Regions from separate parts of the Homo sapiens genome. Here region 1 is linked to region 2. The links are contacts of gene promoters, found by promoter capture Hi-C in human tissues and cell types (Jung and others, 2019). All regions are on one chromosome and are shown on one strand. The core of a region is centred on a gene start or on the middle of the fragment in contact, and the rest is flanking DNA. Distances in the headings are between cores, read along the strand shown.

What was found. Contacts are between HindIII fragments. The study calls those that stand out against the background at their distance.
Region 1: a contact is called between a fragment that was not itself captured here and the fragment with the promoter of TCHH in region 2, in 3 of the 25 tissues and cell types used here (H1 embryonic stem cells, adrenal gland and thymus).

Annotation. Positions count from the first base shown.
Region 1 is chr1:152,069,549-152,072,939 of GRCh38, forward strand. No RefSeq gene overlaps it. Among named protein-coding and RNA genes, the nearest start is that of TCHHL1, 18 kb to the right of the region's middle. The HindIII fragment of the contact is 3,370 bases long and covers 311-3,391 here.
Region 2 is chr1:152,113,936-152,117,261 of GRCh38, forward strand. It overlaps TCHH (trichohyalin), which reads right to left and starts at 1,509. Exons shown (of 3, transcript NM_007113.4): 1 at 1,456-1,509; 2 at 8-176. The coding sequence starts at 145. The HindIII fragment of the contact is 12,190 bases long and covers 1-3,326 here.

The sequences.
Region 1 (3,391 bases), core at 746-3,245, 44 kb before region 2:
TCACCTTTTAAAAATTTATCAATTTTTATTTTAAGTTCTGGGGTACATGTGCAGGATGTGCAGGTTTGTTACATAGGTAAACGTGTGCCATGGTGGTTGGCTGCACAGATCAACCCATCACCGAGATATTAAGCCCAGCACCCATTGGCTACTCTTCCTGATGCTCTCCCTCCCACAGCTCCCCCTCCACCCACGTTTACTGCAGACATTCTGTAGGATTCTCTTAGAGATAGCCGGTTCTATCATCTTGTTAATGGCTATGAGGTGAGCAGTACTGGAGAAATCTTTAATAGCCTGTGGATATGACAAAGAGTTTGAAGAGCTATAAAATCAGATAAGTGAATACAGGCAAATGTATTTCCTGAGGAGCATGGTAGCTCTTTTTTTTTTGCTGCTCACCCTGATTTTGAGAATAGCTCCACAAGGAGACACCTTTCCTGTGTGGGGGGATACTGGGGCCATAGGCTACTGCTATTTCCCAAAGCAAAACAAGCCTGGATCCTAAATCTTTTTTACATCTAATTTGGTTTGTTTGTTTTTAAGTCTCCCACATGACTTCTAAAATTGTATGTAATAAAGACACTTTGAGCTTTTCCTGATGTCTGTAATAAAAATATAAAATGTCTTCTCTTCAGTTTCTCTCCTGAACATCCCCATGGCCCTGGGGAGTTTATTTTTCTAGAATGTCTAAAGTGTATTATTTATTCAAAACAAAACAAAACAAAACAAAATAGTTTCTATGAGGAAATATTCTAGATACTTGACTCAATAATATTTCATTATTTTTGAATTTGTGTAGGAAACTCTTTCTTGCCCGTATTCAGACAGCCCAAGGCATGGGTGACTACTGAAGGAGGAGGAGGCAGGTCTTTCTCCCTGTGTGTCTAAAGGGCAGGAGCCTGATGAACTGGCTCCGTGTGGTCATTAGTTGCCGTTAGAGTGATTAATAAGAGTAACAGAGATAATTATAATTCTTGCTTTGAAAAGCCTTGCTTTTGAGAGGAATTATCCTTGTGCAAATGTCTCCCCACCCTCTTGGTAAATCGTCTTTGGCAGCCAGACCTGTAGCTTCTGGGTTTGCCTGTGGTCTCCGGGCTGCTGTTGCTGACACACCTGGTCTGCTGCCCGTCTCTCCTGAGTTTGGCTCATCTGATTCCTGGGCCTTCTTGCTTTTCTCCACTCTTTCTCATTTTCTGATGGTCTCTCTCTGTTCTCTTTTCCGTCTTCCTTTTGTCTTCCCCCCTTTCAACATTTCAATCTCTTTCTGTTTCTCATTGTCCCTTTCTTTGTGTGCCTTTTCTTACCTCTGTCTCTTCTACCTCTCTATTCCCACCCCATTTGTTTCAGACCTGAAGTCTCCATTCAGTTTGATCTTCCCTTTCGTTCTTTTACCTAAAAATTTATTAGTTTCTATCAGGGAAAATAAAAGACAAGTAGATTGAAAATGAATGCATCCAGTTCTTGCTATGAGAAGGGAAAGAGACGCTTACTGTGTGTCCACACCAGGCGATAGCCTGCCATAGTCACACAATGGGGAGGCCTGCTTGGTGCCAGGGCCCATGCTTACCACCCACACTGCCTGTACAAACAGGACATTTTCTGACCCAGAGTCCATGTGCAATGGTGACAGAATGACTTCTGTGGTGACACTCTTCTGATGACGTGGTCTTTGCCCCTCAGCGTCAAGGTTTGTCTTGACACTGCCTGGGAGGAGTTTCCTGGAAAGTGTCCACAGCCATGATTACAGATAAGAGGAGACTGCCAGAGTCATTTGAAGGCATCAAGTTGTCTGTAGGAGAAGCTTGGTGATTGGAGGAGTTGCTGCTGGGGTGGCTATCCTGAGTGCACATTTGGACTTTGCCTGCTCTGTGACCTCAGGCATCTTACCAAATCCCTCTGAGCCTCAGCAGTGGGATCTAGTGGTCACCATTTCTTGGATGTGTCATAAGGATACGGTGTGGCTCAGGGAAGCACTGGATTATAATGTGTTTTAAGCTCATTCTGAAGAAAAGCACCGTGCAAATCCCAGTTATTATGTTTATTATGAGGTTCAGCATGATTAAATGCAAAGAATTTGTTCCATCTGAATGAGGCTTTTAAAAATACACTGGGGCCAGTAATTACAGAAATGTAGGCTCCCCTAAACATGTTCCCAATTAGGAAGGGATGTAACTGAATGAACTGGGGCATGGCGGGGGACTCTCAGATCCTTGACATGTTCTTGGTCAGCTCAGTCAAGCTTTTCTTGATCAGAAAATGGAAAAAAGCAGAAAATTCTCATCCCTTGTGTCTTTCTTAGAAGAAGATAATAAACCCAGTGGCCAAAGAATGTTAACATTTAACTGATTTTCCTTATGTATCAGGACCTTTTTCTGAAACTATGATTGTTAAGGATTTTAAGTAAGACCCAAATCAGTATGGGGTATGATTTTCTTGTTTGTGATTAAAACATATGGAAGTAATTATAGATCTCAAAGTAATTTTTATTTATACACAAATAATACATACGTTCCTGATCCTTGAAAAAATTGAAACATTACTTGATGACATCTAAGACTTCTTTGACTACTACTGTCTCTCCTGATTCCCTTTTACTTTTCTCAGAGGCAATGACCATTATCAGTTTGGTGTTTTTCTTTCTGAGCTTTTCCGTCTTTAGAAGTAGAGAAAACCAAGGTGGACATGGTACGCAAGTCTCCACATGGTTTTCTTCTGTGGTTTAGCCTCATCTCCTGGGCCAGATCATATGCTTCTTGAGACCAGAAACCACATGAACTCCTTGATCTGATTCCACACCACTCCCAGGCCTGGAATAGAATCATGGAGAAGTGAGGGGAATGGTGAGGAACAGTTAACTAAACGCTTGTTTGAGAAAAATTATTGTCCTGCAGTTTACTCAAATAGAGCTAGTAACTCGGCTGGGCAAGTTTCAGATTCTGTGTTTCAAAACCACCTCAACCCACCCAGTGGAAACCAGAATATTCTCATGGCTTTACAAAAACGCCTGAGCTTTAAGCTTGATCTAAAGGGCTCAGCAAAGAAGCATTGCTCCTGAGAGGCTTCCTGTCTGCCTCAAGCTCCCTGTCTCAGCCTCCAGGTAGCCTCATCCTCATGCTCCACTTGCCCAGACATGGACCTCAAAGAAACTCCTGTCCACCTTCTTGGGGGTCCCTTCAGGGGTAGTTGTGTGTCATCAGCCACCCTCAGAGTTGGCTCTGAAACATTCCCCGGTTTCTCCTTCAGTGGTTTGTGGAGGTCAGGAAGAAATGCATGTGATATTTTCTGAAGGTTCTGGACAATCCTAATGTTGTCATGAAGCCTGCTGGCCCCTTTAGGCAACATACACACCCAGACATATATCGATAGTGATGGAAGAATTCCATCTTTTCTT
Region 2 (3,326 bases), core at 259-2,758:
TTCTTACCCGAAGCACAGCTCCAAATTCCCTTTCAAGGAGGTTCTTCAGGTCTTTCTTAGTTAATGCTGCTCCATCACAATCATGAGAGACATACTGATTGAAAATTTCAGTGATGTCACAGATGCTTCTCAGAAGTGGAGACATTTTTTTTTCTTTCCTTCAAGTTCAAGTAAACCTAGAACAATAAAATAAGATCCAGAATCAAAATCCCGTTTCTGCTTTTGGGAAGGCTTCATTCACACTATTTCAGGCAGATCCCTAAATAATTTGAATTTATAGCGGTAATTTCAACCTGGACTTTCAGAGCACTTTAATATTTGAATATTGTATCAGAAAGAGAAAGAGCGATCCTGAGAAATTCCAAGCCAGGGAATCATCTTCAGACTATCCTGTTGTCAGCTTTTGATTGTCCACCCAATGTGGATTATCTATGCCCTTTTCTTCTGTCTTTCTTCCAGCTCTCCACCGTATTTCAGAGTAGAAAATTAAGAGAAGAGTGCAGAAATTAAAATTTTATATATGTCTACACACCTTCCTTTAAAGTTGAGCGAAGAGGACAGGTAAAAGCCAAAAGGTGAAGGAAGACTTGAGAGTATCTTAAAGTGGATAGAGGCCATGTCAGCAAAACAGTTGGTAGAAAATAGAACAATGAAAAGGGAATATGAATGATTCCTCAACATTACAGTCCATAAAGGATTTAGGAACTCTTATAGAATATAATTTGTAAGTCAGCAATTCTAAGATTAAATAGTACTTCTTCCTAGTCAAAAGATGGCATTGTAACATTCAGATACACAAATGCAGAAAACAGAGACTGTATATTACCTGCCTCAACTCAGATATAGTAAGATATTCGGATATTGAAGTATTGAAAGCTTCTGAGAGGTCCTTTCTAAACCAAACGGAATCCAGAAAACTGTGAATGATATTGGTTTTGTTAAACCCAAATGCATCATTGGAATCTTGGCTTTTTATAAAACATTAGCCAGCAGTAGATCAATGTTATAAGAATACATGGAATGGCTTTGCTGGTGGGATAAGTGTAGTCGTTCATCTAGCTGACTTCTTTATGTACTTCTCAACTCCAGTACCTTAAATGCTGTGACTGTATGAAGATGGCCCATATTAGGTAGAACCAATGTAAAAGAGAACAGAAGGCTGGCAAACTTTTGAGATAGCAGTTTTTAGGAAGATGAACCCTATCAGAGCCACACATGATCATCCTTGATGTGCAGAAGTATAGAGTTCAGAGCCCAAGGAGAAGGGTCATGCTTCAGTTCAAGTGATGGCTCCAACCATAAGAAGATGGGATAGAGTTAGTGATAGTTTATTTATCCCTGCAAAATACTGATACCTTCTGGCACATGGAACCTCCCCCCATATCCCAACATCTGAAATAGCTATAAAAATGGAGAATCATAAAGAAGACCACGATCCCACAGAATGGGACTTACCCACTTCACCAGAGGAAGAAGTCGACAGTGCTTGCTGACACCACAGGCAAGTGTACTGGGTAACTGGGAGCTGGGCCTTTTATAGGGGTTTTAATTGTGCCCTGGAAAGCAACTTGGGAAGGAGACACCCACTCTGTGGGATGGCCTGATTCATTCCTAACCAAGCCCAGCTCCACCTCTGTCTCCACAAATGGCTTGTTTATCTCACTATTTGCTCACGTAGCTATTTGGCACGAGGTTCACAGACCTTGCCTCCTGACAGTCAGGGTACCAGCCCCACCTAACATGGGAGGGTAGAATATTTGGCAGAATCTCCAATTTTCTTAAATTGTTAAAAGTAAATTAAATAATAAAACAAAGGTATTAAATGTTCACAATCTTAATTGATTATTACTTCATTACAAAGGAGTAAACTCTAAGCCATTTGCTTTATAAAAGATACAATCTCTAGTTTGGGATTAAGCAGAAACTTTGAAATAAAGTGATGAAAACCAATTAATTTCTCCATGGGATGTGACAGTCCATGGTGAGCTGCTCATAAGCCCTGCCAGAAGCAGTTGCTTCAATTCTAGGGCAATGAGAGAGCTGTAAAGAATTGGTTAGTTTCTTCTCTAAAAATGCAGGTGGGAAAAATTTTTACATTTGTCTCCCGGGTCTTATGATGGTTTTCCTACAGATTGGGGACTGCCTCCTCAGTAAAGTTTGGAAGGGTACCTTGGAAATATATTTTTATTAAACCGTTCATAAGAAAACTTGAAATCTGTGAAATTTCATTCTTAGAGACATTAAACCTAAATGAAGTTTGTTCATTAGTTTTCTCATTAGCATATTGATGCCCCTGGGGAAAAAGAGCTGGTGTAATGTATTATTGTAGATATAATCATCCTGCTCAGCCTAAGTTACTAATGATTATGACACCTAAACACTTGAGTCTGCTTCTCCTGGAAGTACATTGAGGTAATTGGTCATTCTAGCCCATTATATCCATCAGGGCTTTCTCAATCTGGTTGATCATTTGCAAATTTCAGTGCTGTTTTATTGTAAGGAATTGGATTTTATCCATGGTTGTCAGTGACTTCCTTCCTTACATTTCAGACTATATGAAACTTTGGTTCATAATTTATGAAGACTATTAAATGATTCAATGGCTTCTCTGCACTTTTGTCTCCTCCTTTGTCCAACAGAGGCAAGTGTTGGTTTTCTGAATTTTGAGGCAACTGAACGTCCTTCAATGGCATGAGTGAAAATTTGGAATCTAAATCTTGATGGCTATTTCTTTATGTGCAGATTGGTCTAAATGATAATGGAGTTGAACTCTATTTGCCCCCTCACTTGCTGCCATCCTAGATGTGGGGTACAGAGGAAGGTAGAAGTGACAGGGAATGGGAAGACAATTATAAGCAATGCTAATTTCTGCCTCTTAAGGACTTCAACACTGAAGTCTACAATTTAGTGGTTTTCCTAGGACTGTCAGAACTGTCACTATTTCTTGGGCTCAGTTAACAAACTTGATGTGGCAATTCCTTGGTGAAGGGTGAAGACTTCTCATTTTTCCCCTTCTTTTTAGGGTTTTATGCAGCTCTCTTACTCTTTGGATTCTGAGATAGGACCATCATAAGCACTGACCACACTGCAATCATGTGATCATGGAAGCTCACTCTCTCACAGAGGGCACTAGCCTTTTGTATGAGTGTTCTTCAAGGAATAACCTGGGCAAGGACTGCCTTATGTCTGCTTTTGTTTGTATCCTCCTGTGTGTGATCTATTGGGAAACCTCAGTTCAGGTGATGGGATGCATTTACATGACTCCATTACTTTCCTATAGTGAATAAACCCTAAAGGGAACTGGAAATTTTTAGGTTCCATGAAAA